Regions from separate parts of the Homo sapiens genome. Here region 1 is linked to region 2. Evidence: promoter capture Hi-C in human tissues and cell types (Jung and others, 2019). All regions are on one chromosome and are shown on one strand. The core of a region is centred on a gene start or on the middle of the fragment in contact, and the rest is flanking DNA. Distances in the headings are between cores, read along the strand shown. Region 1 has its middle 7.0 kb from the start of CLCN4. Region 2 holds the start of WWC3 (WWC family member 3).

Evidence for each region. The method cuts DNA at HindIII sites, captures the fragments that hold promoters and counts their contacts. A contact is called where the count stands out against the background at its distance.
Region 1: a contact is called between a fragment that was not itself captured here and the fragment with the promoter of WWC3 in region 2, in 1 of the 25 tissues and cell types used here (hippocampus).

The regions. Positions count from the first base shown.
Region 1 is chrX:10,146,138-10,153,776 of GRCh38, reverse strand. No RefSeq gene overlaps it. Among named protein-coding and RNA genes, the nearest start is that of CLCN4, 7.0 kb to the left of the region's middle. The HindIII fragment of the contact is 6,586 bases long and covers 2,245-7,639 here.
Region 2 is chrX:10,011,847-10,019,095 of GRCh38, reverse strand. WWC3 (WWC family member 3) reads right to left here and starts at 3,842. Exons shown (of 24, transcript NM_015691.5): 1 at 3,423-3,842; 2 at 3,238-3,420. The coding sequence starts at 3,517. RefSeq lists silencers at 3,870-3,929, 3,970-4,139 and enhancers at 3,960-4,843, 4,844-5,727. The HindIII fragment of the contact is 13,767 bases long and covers 1-7,249 here.

The DNA.
Region 1 (7,639 bases), core at 4,288-6,787, 130 kb before region 2:
ATTTTCCCAAATGTTCTCAGCCAACCGCTTTAATCATACACCATCTTGAAGTATTACATGGCTGTATTGCAGTATTACTGCCTGTGCTATTTTGCCAAGCTTCTGCAAGCCCCACTTTTCCCTTCTGTAAAACAAGGAGAAGGAGGAAGAGTAATAGTATCCACCACTTGTAGCTGAGTGAGACGTAAGTGAGAGATCTGGAAAGAGCACAAGCAGTGCCTTATTATTAGAATTTGAGACACAAGAAAAGTTGTGTACCCCTAAATACAGTGATCAAGATACCCTCTTGTATTTTGAACCAAGTGAAAAAAGTCAGTAAAGACCCTACAACCGAAACACACACGCACAGAAACTATGTATAATGCTCCCCGTGGCCCAATTTATTTGCACCCACATAAACCTCCCCTTCAGATACCTCCTGGCCAAGTAACCCCTCGCTGATTGGAATTGACTATGCTCCCTTGCCCAACACTGAAGGGGAGTGAAACAAACCACAACAGCCTGTCCTTATTTAAAATGTTCATATCTTGTACATTGTAATTTTCTGCACTAATTTTGATTTTATAAATTATATATGTACATATATATGTACATATATATGTGTGTGTGTATATATATACATATATATGTGTGTGTGTATATACATATATATATATTTTTTTTTTTTTTTTTGAGATGGGGTTTTGCTCTCGTCGCCCAGGCTGGAGTGCAGTGGCATGATCTTGCCTCACTGCAACCTCCATCTCCCAGGTTCAAACAATTCTCCTGCCTCAGCCTCCTGAGTAGCTGGGATTACAGGTGCCTACCACCACACCTGGCTAATTTTTGTATTTTTAGTAGAGACGGGGTTTTGCCATGTTGGCCAGGCTGGTCTCAAACTCCCGACCTCAGGTGATCCACCCACCTCAGCCTCCCAAAGTGGTGGGATTACAGGCGTGAGTCACCGTGCCTGGCCAGTATATTATCTTGATTACTGATTTTTGTGGTGCCCTCTTACGTTTTGCACCCAAGGTAAGTGCCTCCCTCACCTCCTCCAAATTCCAGCCCTGAGTATCTGGTAAATTATTCTATAAATGGGGGATCTTATAAAACCTGGAGGTGAAGACCCTATTTCATCTATCTTTGTATCCTGAACTCCTTTACACCTGAATACACCATCTCCAATGAATGAATGAATGAATGAATGAGTTGCTTCCATACCTAGCTGGGGGCTATGCACATGGCCAGCATCCTAAAAGATTTGGGGAATAAGTAAGTGACATGGGATATAAGAATATGCAATCCAGCCTTTTCTAGGCATTCTGGGCTGTGTTCACAGATCTCAGCAGACATCCAAAAGCTGCAAACTCAGACCCCATTGCCCTGACATCGATCCAAAGTGACAGCCTTGACTGACGTGACAAACAACAGCTTTGAAATCCCTCTGCTTTTGCAGTGGAGTGGAGTTGTTGTCAAGGACATTGTCTGTGCTGGGAAGCCTGAGAAAAGAGCCCGTGTAGCTCTAAGGCCTAAGAGAAGTGTTGCCATCCCTTAAAAAAACCATATGGTGCTTTTCCTCTCTGACAATAAGAACTGTGGAGCTGCCACTGTCTCCTTTTTCTCTGTGAGTGCCAGGAGACTCAGATGTTGCCAAGGCAATTCAGTAGGCCTGTCTCCTCCAGTAGGCATATGCACAGTGGCATGTCAGTCATCGTTAAATAACCCAGCTCTCCAAGGGTGGGGCATGGGGAGGGAGGCTTGATTTGTAGCTTGTGCTGATTCTCCTGGTGTAAATTCTCCTGCCATGCCTTGCTTCGAACTACTGAATGGGGAGCTGGAAACTGATGCACGATAGCCATCATTGGACAGCATCTCCACCACGCACAGACAGAAGTCAGTTATCTTATTGCACCTGGACAGTGAACAGCTTTTCTCACCCAGGACCTGGCCTCTGAGAAAAGCTGCTCCTTGTCCAGGTGCCTTGGGTTGGAAATGGGATTTTTCTAGAATTGCACTGCTCTATGGTAGCCACTAGACACAGTTACTATTTACATGAAAATGAATTTAACTTAAAAGTTCCAATTCAGTCCCTCAGTCACACTAGCCACATGTCAGATGCTCAAGAGCTACATGTGGCTTGTCACTACGGTATTTTAGCGCAGATATAAAACAATTCCATCATTGCAGATAATTCTATTGGATGATGCAGTAAAATATTTCTTTTAAACGAACTCCATTGCAATAAAACAATTTGTGTTTATTACTCATGGGATTCTGCCTGTAATTGCAGGGTAGAAACAGCAATCTGGCCAGAGCGTCTGTTAGTGGGAACAATGGAAAGGCACAGATTCCAGAAGGCCGTGTGCCTCTAGCCACAGGTCTCAGACAAGATGCTTCCAAATGCCACTGAATGTGCAGCCTCTGCCGTTGGACTTCACCAGGAGCCTGGGAATCTTCTAAGAGGGGAGCGTCTGATCACTTGTTCCAAAGCAAAACTTGAGATGCATGCCGGAGTACATACATACTGAATACAGGAACCGGCCCTTCAAAGCTCAGTGCTTCTAGGGTGGGCTGGAGAATGACCTCCCCAAAGATGTTCACCCCCTTATTCCCAGGACCTGTGAAGATGTTGCTTTACGTGACAAAAGAGATTTTGCAGATGTGATTAGATTAGGGATCCTAAGATCGTGGGGAGATGATCCTGGGTGGCCCCAGTGGGCCCAGTGTCGTCACAAGGATCATTATAAAAGGGAGGCAGGAGGGTCAGAGTCAGAGAAGATTGGCAATGGAAGCAGAGATCAGAGAGGGAGATTTGAAGCTGCTACACTGCTGGCCTTGAAGATGGAGGATAGGGCCATAAGCGAACAAATGCAAGTGGCCTCTAGAAGCTGGAAGAGGCCAGGAAACAGAATCTCTCCACTAGCCTATGGAAGGAACACAGCCCTGCTGGCACTTGATTTTAGCCCATTCACACCCAGTTTAGACTTCTACCCTCCAGAAAAGGAAAAGGATGAATATGTGTTGTTTTAAGCCGCTAAGTACAGCAGCCATTGGAAACGAACAGAGCCTTGGCTCATTGATTCATCCGATTCCTATTTACGGAGCCCTCCGTCTGCACCAGGCAGAATGCAAGGCCCGAGGGTCAGCCACGCTCGGGAGTGACTGTGTCCCTCTGCTGAGTCCCTCTTACAGTCCATGGGGAAGACAGTCATGAAACAGGTCTTCCCAATCAAGAGTGGGGAATCCCTGATGAGAGAAGTGTTGAGTGATGTGGAAAAATACCGCTAGGGGTTGAATTATGTACTCCCAAATTCATATGTTGAAGTCTCAACTCCCCAGTACCTCAGAATGTGACTATATTTGGAGATAAGTTCTTTAAAGAAGTGGTTATGTTTTCACATCAGGCCGCTAGGGTGGGGCCCTAGTCCCATCTGACTGGTGTCCCTATGAAAAAAAAAAAAGGAGACCCCAGGGTCATGCATGCAGAGTGATGACCACGTGAGGAGGCAGCAAGCTGAGGGGAGAGGCCTCGGGAAACCAGCCTGCCAGTGCCTTCATCTTGAACTTCCAGCCTCCAGTGAGAAAATCAATGTCTGTTGTCGAAGCCACCCAGTCTGTGGGACTTGGTTACGGCAGGCCTAGCGAACTCATACACGTACATAAAGCAGAGGGGCCAAATTTCTTCAGGGATGGAGACCACTTCCGGCCTCCTTGAGAAAGTCATGGTTAAGCTATCCAAGGACAAGTGGGAGTTAGCTCAAGTTGGGGACTGTGGAAGAGTGGACCAGAGAGAAGACAGGGAGTGCCCATAGGTAGCCAGGAGGGAAAGGCCTTCTTTCTGCTACAGCAACTGCAACAAGTAAAATTTGGCCACAGTAGCATTGCTCAAAGTTATTTTTGCCTTTTGTTTGTTTGTTTGTTTTTGAGACAGAGTTTCACTCTGTTGCCCAAGCTGCAGTGCAGTGGCATGATTTCAGCTCACTGCAACCTCCATCTCCAGGGTTCAAGTGATTCTCCTGCCTCAGCCTCCCAGGTGGCTGGGATTACAGGCGCCCACCACCACGCCCGGCTACATTTTTGTATTTTAATGGAGACAGGGTTTCACCATGTTGGTCAGGCTGGTCTCAAACTCCCGATCTCAGGTGATCCACCTGCCTTGGCCTCCCAAACTGCTGGGATTACAGGTGTTAGCCACCATTCCCAGGCTAAAAGGTTTTTTGTTTGTTTGTTTTGAGACATCCAGAGTAATGAGTGTCTTTTGTATGCGAAAGAGATGATGGTAGCTGAGGGCCCTAGGTAGCCTCAGGATAGGGGCTGGTCACCAGTCACCAGAAAGACCAAGGCAAGATAACAGATTGGGGACTTTTAACCCCACCTCCTTGACCTCCGGGGAGGGGAGAGGGGCTGAAGCTTGAGTTTATCACCAGTGGTCAATGATGTAATCAATCATGCCTATGCAATGGAACCTCCATAAAAACCAAACACCACATGTTCTCACTCATAGGTGGGAATTTAACAATGAGAACACATGGACACAGGGTGGGGAACATCACACTCCGGGGACTGTTGTGGGGTCGGGGGAGGGGGGAGAGATAGCATTAGGAGATATACCTAATGTAAATGACGAGTTAACGGGTGCAGCACACCAACATGGCACATGTATACATATGTAACAAACCTGCACATTGTGCACATGTACCCTAGAACTTAAAGTATAATAAAAACAAAACTTCAGTAACAAACAAACAAACAAAAGCCCACAAAAGGACAGGGTTTTCCGTGGGCTTCCAGATAGCTGAATACACAGAGGTTCCTGGAGGGTGGTGCCTAGGGAAGGGCATGGAAGCTCCGTGCCTTGCCTTCCATACCTTCCACATCGCTTCCATCAGGCTGTACATCTGTATCTTTGGTAATATCCTTTATAACAAATGGCTAAACATGTTTCCCTGAGTTGTGGGACCACTCTAGCATGTCAGTGAACTTGAGGAGGGGGTCATGGGAACCCCCATTGTATAGCCAGTCGGTCAGAACCACAAGCCACAACCTGTGCTTTTCATTTTTGTTTTTTGAGACAGATTCTCACTGTGTCACCCAGGCTGGAGTACAGTGGTGCAGTCTCGGCTCACTGCAACCTCCGCCTACCGGGTTCAAGTGATTCTTCTGCCTCAGCCTCCCGAGTAGCTGGGACTGCAGGCGTATGCCACCATGCCCAGCTAATTTTTGTATTTTTAGTAGAGATGGGGTTTCACTGTGTTGGCCAGGCTGGTCTCGAACTCCTGACCTCGTGATCTGCCCACCTCGGCCTCCCAAAGTGCTGGGATTACAGGCGTGAGCCACCGCCCCGGCCACTTTTTTTCTTCAAGACAGGGTCTCACTCTGTCACCCAGGCTGGAGTGCAATGGCATGAACACGGCTCACTGCAGCCTTGACCTCTGGGGCTCAAGCTCAGCCTCCTGTGTAGCTGGGACCACAGGCACATGCCACCATGCCCAGCTAACTTTTTGTATTTTTTTTGTAGAAACGGGGTCTCGCTATGTTGCCCATGCTGGTCTTGAACTCCTGGGCTCAAGCGGTCCTCCCACCTCAGCTTCTCAAAATGCTGGGATACAGGCATGAGACACCACACTCGGCCTCAACATCTTATTTAATGGGGAAACACTAGTTTTTCCACCAAAGTCTGAAAAAAGGTAAATAGCCTTGCATGTATGTGTATTTATCTTATTGTTATTTTCTGTCTTTATGCAGACAAAGACAGAAAACAAAATAGACAAAAACTCATGAAGAAATATCCAAAATACATACGAGTAAAACTATAAAGCATTCCTGAAAGGCACAAAATTAGTCTTGGACAAATGGAAATACACTCTTGGATAAGAGGATTCAACATCATAAAGATTGCGGTTCTCCCAAATTTGTACGTTTAATGCAATTCCAGTAGATTCATAATTTTTTTTCCCTGGAGCTAGACAAGATAATTATAAAATTCATTTGAAAGAACAAATAAGCAAGAATATCCAGGGAAGCCCTGAGAAAGAAGAAAGGAAGGAGGGCTAGCCCTAACTGATATTAAAACTTACCAACAAGCCTCTATAATTAAAGCAGCTTTGCTCATAAGCACAAATTTTGATTGTGCTGAGATGCTTTCTCACCTCTGCAACTGGCAAAGACTCACAAATGTGACACCATTCTATTGCTGAGGTTGTGAGGGAACTGTCTCATACATTGCTGGTGAGAATACAAAATGGCAAAGTCCCCGTGAGAAAAATGCAGCAACACCCAGCAACATGCCGCATGCATTACTGTTGACCCAGAGATCCCACTTCTTGGGATGTATCTCACGAAAACCCTGGCAAAGGCCGGGCAGGGTGGCTCACACCTGAAATCCCAACACTTTGGGAGATCGAGGCAGGAGGATAGCTTGAGACCAGGAGTTGGAGACCAGCATGGGCAACACGGCAATACCGTTTCTATCAATAAAATAAAAAAAGAAACCCTGGCAAAAATGTGAAAAGATGTCTGCAGAAGACTTTCATTGTTGAATTATTATTTTTTGAGACGGAGTCTCGCTCTGTCGCCCAGGCTGGAGTGCAATGGCACGATCTCGGCTCACTGCCACCTCTGCCCCCCAGGTTCAACCGATTCTCCTGCCTCAGCCTCCTGAGTAGCTGGGATTACAGGTGCACGCCACCATGCCCAGCTAATTTTTGTATTTTTAGTAGAGATGGGGTTTTACCATGTTGGTCAGGCTGGTCTCAAACTCCTGATCTCATGATCTGCCCACCTGGGCCTCCCAAAGTGCTGGGATTACAGGCATGAGCCACCGCGCCCGGCCTGTTCAATTATTTTTAATAGTATGACTAGAAACAACCAGAAGATGGTTGAATAAACAATGGTACATCCACTAATGTTGTGTGCAAAGGTAAAATGAAAAGAACACTTACACATACCTTTGGGGGATATGGGGATGGGGTGAATGTATTTTGCTTGTGGGTTGGATGTGAATTTGGAGGGGGGGGATGCAGAGGACAGATCATAGTGGATTGAATGGTGGGCCTAAAGATATGTCTACCTGGAACTTGGGAACGTGACCTTATTTGCAAAGAGTCTTTGCGGAGGTAATTAAAGACCTGGAGATGCGATCATCCTGGATTAACCGGGTAGGCCCTAAATCCAATGGCAGATGTTCTTGTAATAGAGAGAAGACAGGGAGAAACGCAGAGAGAACGGTGATGTCACGATGGGGCCAAGACTGGAGTCATGTTTCTTGCACAAGCCAAGGATTGTCAGCAGCAGCAAGAGCCGGAAGAGGCGGGAAGGATCCTCCCCTAGGGCCTTTGAAGAGAGTGTAGCCCTGGTGACACTTTGATTTAGCACTTTTGGCCTTGAGAACCGTGAAATAAATTTTTGTTAAGCTACCAAGCTTGTGGTAAATTGTTATAGCAGCCAATACAGACTTTGGTGGTCTCTGGGATATATCTATTTTTCTTTTTTTAAAGAAATGCAGTCTCACTACATCGTCCAGGCTACTCTTGAACTGCTGGTGTCAAAGGATCCTCCCACCTCAGCCTCCCAAGTAGCTGGGACTACAGGTGTGCACCACCACCATTGGCTGGGATATACTTTTAAGTGAAAAAAGCCAGGTGAAGAAAAGTATGTTTTT
Region 2 (7,249 bases), core at 2,593-5,092:
CTGGCCTAACTTTGTAGTTTTTAACCAAGTTCTTGGGTATGATTCCCAGTAAACTAACTATGAAAATTATATGTACAGTATCAATCTATAGAAATAGTGAATTTAAAGTGAAGGTAGGTTTTTTCGTTTGTTTTTTGAGACAGAGTCTCTCTCTGTCACCCAGGCTGAAGTGCAGTGGCGCGATCTCGGCTCACTGCAACCTCCACCTCCAGGGTTCAAGTGATTCTGCTGCCTCAGCCTCCCAAGTAGCTAAGACTACAGGCGCACACCACTACGTCCGGCTAATTTTTGTGTTTTTAGTAGAGACAGGGTTTCACCACGTTGGCCAGGCTGGTCTTGAACTGACCTCAAGTGATCCACCCACCTCAGCCTCCCAAAGTGCTGGGATTACAGGCATGAGCAACCACGCCCAGCCAACCAAAGGTAGGCTTATAATCAAACTAAAAAATTGTTTTTAAAATATTGAGATTGTGTATACATCTGTAGCCACATCCGTAAAGACGTCTCCTTGTATCTTCTTTGTTGTAACTTTAAAAAGCAGTTACAATAATTTCACCAACAGGCTCTGAGCCGGCACTATCAAATGTTAAACACAACACTGAATGGAATTACTATAAAACTCAAGAAGAGATTTTGTTTACAATCCTTGGACCATATTTTATGCTATACAGTTTTTACTAAAGTTTATATGAAATTATGTTTAAAGTCAACAACAATTTTCACTTAACCTACTACATTCATTTATTCCACCACAATTTCATTTTCTTAAAGAGAAAAAAAAAGCTATTATGTATTTGCCTTTCTCCTGTCAGGTCTCTATGTGGAAGCTGTTTGGTGAAAGTCCTCGTATTTCTTGAATACCATTTTCCTGTGTGACTCAAAAGCAACTCAAAAAGGGTTTTAACTGTCAGATGCGCATGGAGAAAACACTGCCCTCTGACATGCAGTTCTTCCCATATAATAAAAGTTAATTACAACTTTAAAGGGTAACCCGCCACCTATAAAACTCGGCCAGGTTCTGTTTTGAAAGAGGAAGAAGAATGACTATTACAGCCTTCAGCCGACTCCACTTAAATGTTTGTGGCTTGCTGAACATTCCATACATATTTCGGGCAAGGTATTATGGGAGCTGAAGTTCAAGCTGTCCCCTGCTGAATTTTCACTCACTATAAAAACAACGTCTCATAAAAGTACACACGTTTTTACTTTACAAAAAAAAGGTAAAATATCCACTTTTGTTGACTCAATTGACAATTTTAGCATCAGAACGGAGACTTTTTAAAAACCTTTAAGTGATTGTCTGAAAAGTAACAAATCGATTTCTGGAAAAAAGGAATATAGGAAATGTGTCTGAAATACATGGAAAACAAGATTCTCCAAGCTGATTTCTGTATGGTCCATTCACGTTTGTCACAGGTTACACCATTAAAAAGAAAATCCTCACATTGATATCTTTCAGCATGAATCTCCACTCCAATATAACCACAACTGTTTTATATTACCCTTGGAAAGTGAGCCTTAGCCTTTTCTAAGCAAAACACTATTTTAATTGGTTCATTTTCCAGTTGTTTGGGTTTTTAACATACATATGGTATAAAAGGGCACTGCATTCCAAGCAGTTCTACCAATTCCAGAACCATCCAAGGGTTGATCAAACAGCTGGGGCTCTAGCCTTTGGTTAAAATTATAACATGATCTCACCTGATTTTCAAAATAACTAGGCATCTTTTTAACCCATAAAATTGTACTAGGATTGATATAGGTTTCTGAGCCCAGAGGTTTGCAATGTTCAGCGAGAATGTTAGGGAATCACGATCTTTTTGTTTTGCTTTCTTTTGTTTTCCCCTGCTTGAACTCAGAGAAATCTTCAAACAATTCAGCAGCTTCTCTCCTCAAAAGTTTATTTTCAGACGCCAGTGCCATGCAGGCCGCCTTCCCTGTGCAGGTAGGAGGAAGCAGGCACAATGTCACCACACTGGGCCTTTGCAAGTCTTCAAATCACTGGGAAGCCTGTGGTGTTTCCTTTTTGGCACTCAGGCCCTGGAAGGAGAGTTGCTCTAGAGAGGACAAGACATCAGATAACCTGTGGAAACACTTGATGTCCACAGAAATCCCAATTCCACACAAAATACATCTCTGTAAAAGCAGTTGAACAATCGAAACCCGTAGACAATCGAGCAAAAAGTTAAGGAAGAGCTTCGTTACATGGAATTAATTAAATGAAATCTGATAGTGCTTTTACAAGAATCAGTTTTTACTTGATTGGGTTTTTATACGTGAATAAGACAGCTTTGTACCCCATGCATATCTTTCACAAAAAGGAAACTTAAAATACAATTCTTGTTTTTCGTTTATTCCAAAAGCATATGGGACTAATCATATTGCATTCTGGCTGCAGTACAGAAGGCTATTTCAAACAGTTTTAACTCACGAGTTTTAAGGCGCTAAAGAGCAACTAGAGTTTGGGAACAGACTTCTCCAACTCCAAAAGGGTTGGGAATCCCTCAAGGGCCCGTCTGACATCAGGTTTTGGATGGAAACCAGCCTGAACCCGCCAGACAGGGAACCCGCACCCCAAAGCTGGGGCGCACGTTTGTGATCCAAGGTGACAGCTCATCTCGCCACCGCGGGGCTGGGGACACCTGCAGAACCAGGGCCGGGGCAGTGGGCCGCAGACGCCCGGGACCGGGATGGGCGAGGCTGCCGCAGAGAAAGGAAAAGAGGGCCATCTGTCAGCCCCAGGAGAGGAAATTCCAGGAGCCCAGTTCCCAGGCGCCGGACAGCGGGTGACGTGAGGGAACCGAATGAGAGGGTCCGCCCAGCGGCGGGGGACCTGTAGGCGGCCGGCCTCGGCGCTCAGAGGGCTCGAGGCCTGGAGAAGGGGCACCTCCATTCTTGGTCAGAGCCCTGGGAGTCGGGGTATTGGGAGGGTGGATCCTCTCCCGGACCCCCGGAACCAAAGATCTTCACCCAGCCCCGAGGGCCTCCTGGTGTCTCCGATCCTCTCCCTGGGCCCAAGGGATGGGGGCGCCTCGATCGTAGCCTGGACCGGAGCACTCCAGGGAGTCCCCTGGTTCCGGGGATGGAGGCGCTCCGAGCTCTGCCCGGGCCCGGGGGCTCTCGGCGGCGGCCCCGCGCTGGGCGGGGCGTGTCCCCAGCGCATCCGCGGTGGCGCCGGCCGGCGGCCCGGGTCGTAGCGCCCGCGCCGGGTCTGGCGCCCCCAGCCGGCCCGCTTACCGGTCGCGGGGGTCGATCCACGACGTCTGGCGCGTGTTGTGGTCAATGTAAAAGACGCGACCGTCGTAGTCTCGCGCCTCCTCCCAGCCGGCGGGCAGCGGCAGCTCGGCGCTCTCCCGGGCCCGCGGCGGCGGCGCGGAAGGAGCTGGGGGCGTGGGGACCGCGGCGGGGGGCGCCGGCGGCGCGGTTCCCGCTGGGGCTGCGCAGAAGGCGGCGGCTCCCGCGGGGCCTCGCGCGGCTGTCCCCGCCGTCGCCGCCGGCCGCCGCTCAGCCAAGGCATGACGGCGCGGGCCCCGCCGCCGCCCGGCCGCCCCGCGCGCGCCGCCTCCTCCGCCAGCACTAAGGCCCGGCGCCCGGGGCGCGGGGGCGGCCGCGGGGAGCCGCCCGCCGCTCCTGGCGCATCCTCCGCCCGGCGCCCGTGCACCGGCGTCCGCCCGCCCGCCCTAGCAAGCCGCTGCCCGCGCCGCCCACTCCGTTCAGGTAGCCCGGGTGGCCGCCGCGCGCGAAGTCACAGCCCGGGAGCCGCCGCCGCCGCCGCCGCCGCTGCCGGCCGCCCCTCCGTTCCCGCGGCGCGCCCGGCCATCTTCGTTCCTCGGCGCGGCCCGGGCGAGCAGGGGCAGGGCGTTCGCAGGCCCCGCCTCCGGCCGTCCCGCCCCGTTCTCACCCAGGCCCCGCGGCTCCTCCCACGCCGGCGGCTCCACCCACGCCGGCTGCTCCTCCCGAATCTCCCACGGAGGCTCCCGCTCCTCCCGCCGCCTCTGCTTTTCCACCCACTCCCGCTGCTCCGCCTCCCCCGGCCCCGCGTCCTCCGCGCCTCTCCGTCGCCGGCTGCTCCGCCCCCAGTCTCCCTCGGGGTCCTCCTCGGCGCTCGGCTCCTCGACCCCACCCCCACCCCTCCGCTTGCTCCTCCCCCTCCGCCGTCCTCCCTCTCCGCGCGCTCCTCGCTCTCTCCCTCCCGCTCCGCCACCTTCCTCCGGCCTCGGGAAACCGCATGGAGGCCAGGATGGGCGCCGCCGCGTCAGTCCGCCCCCGGGCCCCCGCGTAGAGGAAGGCGGGCGGGGAGGACGACGCCCTACCCGGACTGCGGGCGCGGCCTGCCTGGGGTGACTCCTCGGGCGCAAACAATTCCCGAGAGAGCGGGCAGTGCCCTCCCTTCACCCGCTCCCGGGCTCTGGCTGTCTGGAGACCCTCTGCGCACTTGGCGGGAGGCTGCGCCCTCGGTCTCCCACACAACCCGTCTGGTCCCGCGAAGGTGGGAAAAGCCCCTGAAGGCGGGGCCGAGGGAGCTGAGGAGCTGGGGGAGCCCGCGGCCGGTCCTCTCGGGCGGCGCAGGGAGGACGCCTCTGGAAGCGGGCAGCTGGGCAGGTGGCCACTTTGCGTCCCCGCCAGGACAGCCCTAGAAGGGCTAACCTGGGGGCCCACACTAGGCGGGAGTTCCTTGACCTTCCCTGAGCGCTTCATCCGGTTTGTGGGGTCTGATCGTTTGAGCGGAGACCCAAGTAGACCATTGCTGGGGAGGAAGCCGGGTCAACTCCTAAAACTTTCAGCCTAGACGGGAACTTCTGTTTCACTGGCTCCCAGCTGGGGAAGCTGAAGCTCCAGAGTTGGGGCTGTGTCTTGCTCTAAATCTCCCACCTACTTCGTGCCCCAGACCCACAGCCGCAACACGTTATGCCAGGAAATGCAGGACAGTATCAGGGAGATTTTTAAACAGTTACAGTGATACAAAAATATCTGGTAGAGCCTGATTGAAATCCAGATACACAGGGGAAGAGACTGGAGGAAAATGTCCTGAAATGCTCACAAGAGTTTGCATTCCTTTGGCGGGATTTTTAAAAATGATTTGCCTTCCAATTTTTTGTAAAATGGTAATATTACTTTTATGAGGGGAAAGGTTGTTTTAAAAAAGAAGAATGGGCCGGGCGCGGTGGCTCACGCTTGTAATCCTAGCACTTTGGGAGGCCCAGGCGGGCGGATCACGAGGTCAGGAGTTCGAGACGAGCCTGGCCAGCATGGTGAAATCCCCGTCTCTACTAAAAATACAAAAATTAGCCGGGCATGGTGGCGCACGCCTGTAATCCCAGCTACTCGGGAGGCTGAGGCAGGAGAACTGCTTGAACCTGGGAGGTTGCAGTGAGCTGAGATCGCGCCACTGCACTCCAGCCTGGACGACAGAGTGAGACTCCATCTCAACAACAACAAAAAAAAAATTAGAAGAATGTGGGGCCGGGCTCGGTGGCTCACACCTTTAATCCCAACACTTTGGGAGGCTGAGGTGGGAGGATCACTTGAGCCAGGGAGGTCGAGGCTGCAGTGAGCCGTGTTTGCACGATTGCACTCCAGGCTGGGCGATGGAACAGAGACCCTGTCTCAAAAAAAAAAAAAAAAAAAAAAAAAGAAGAAGAAGAAGAAGAAGAATGTGAAGTTGTGAAGGTATAGCGACGTCCAAAAAACTATCCAAGGAAGGTCTTTCCTCTCCCTCCTCCTACTACAACACAGAAACTTTCTTGCTCCCCAAGTATCTATCTACCCCTACCTGAATGTTCTATGTGAGAAATTCCACCGCATGAGTCCTTTTAAACATGTGTGATTATTACATGTCCAAGGGAAAGAGTGGGAGGGTCAAAAAAGCACATATTTTGTGATGTCGCATGTGCCAGGGAATGCCCCAAGTGCTGAGTGTCCCTGCTCTGACATCTTCCCTTCCGATTGGCATGATTTATCGCCAGTGGGGCTGCCACTGCCTTCTTACCTTACCACCCAACATGGCCGTTCTGAAGCTGCATTTCCACCCTCCCTGTCACCTGGTCCTTTTAGAATCTCACAAATCTGGACACAAATCTATCACTCGAAAGTACTTTGAATGGGGCTGGGGCGTATTGGAGTGAAACCGACTTCTGCAGAGAGAGAGTGGAAAGAGGAGAACACATACACCACACATCAAAGGACTCAGAAGGAAAGGCAAGATGAAAAAAGCATCAGGTAGAGCAAGGAGTGGGGGAAACTGCATCCAATTAGGAGCTCAAAGAGGCCAGCGCCGAGGAGTCTTCACTGAAGGTGAAAGATTTCTACCCGTTCAGGCGGGCAGCAAATAGTGGACCTCCCACGCGCAGACACTGTGCTGCGTGTAGGCATGCTGCAGGGAAGAGGATAGTCTGTGCTTCAGCTTGCACTCCCTTGGGGACTAAACATAGAAATAGGCCCTTGTAATACAATTGTCACTTGTCAACAAATGAAGCCAGGGTGCCAACCTCAATTTGGGGACTCGTGGGAGGCTTTGTGAGACCAAAGGGAAGGTGCCTCAGATGAGGAAACTGAGGCTCAGATGTTCAGATTCCCAAGTTCTGAGCTCTTGCCCCTTGGCACATGGAGCTGCTGTCATGAAATTGTTTACTTGTATAGCAGATGCTGGGGCGGGCTCCCTTCTTTTGGAGTATTGTGAAGATGACCCTTCATTAACACAGATGTCTGAGAGATTACACCCAGCCCCAGGAGCTGACCGTCCAGTTTCCTTGCCTTGGTGACACAAACTCGAATGCCCTTGACACCCCAGAGCTCCCCATGGGATCCCCCATGGGATCAGGCTGAGGCTGTACTTCTCTGGAAATCATAGCTTTGCCAGCTCCTCCCCTGCCCGGTCCCGCCTCCCTTACTCGTGTAAGCATGCCTCCAATCAGCCGCTCACTCGAGAACCCCCGTCTCAGGCACCCTTTCTAAAGAGCCTGACCTAAGATAGGCTCCTGCACACTTACTGTCATCTAAGCACTTAGCAAATACGAGCTCATTTAATCACCAAAACATCTAGAGGCATTCCTACTTTCATTTGCACATTAATAGAGGCAAAAGAAGTGTGACACAGCATGCCAGAGAAGAGAGATTGGAGACCCTCACTGAGAAAACTTCATCCACATGCCCAGCCACTGCCTCTGGACACTCTCTGCCTGAGAGAACAGAAGTGGGGCTATTGCATTTGTCTTCCTAAAAGGAGCTGAACCAGAGAGGAAGAGGCCAG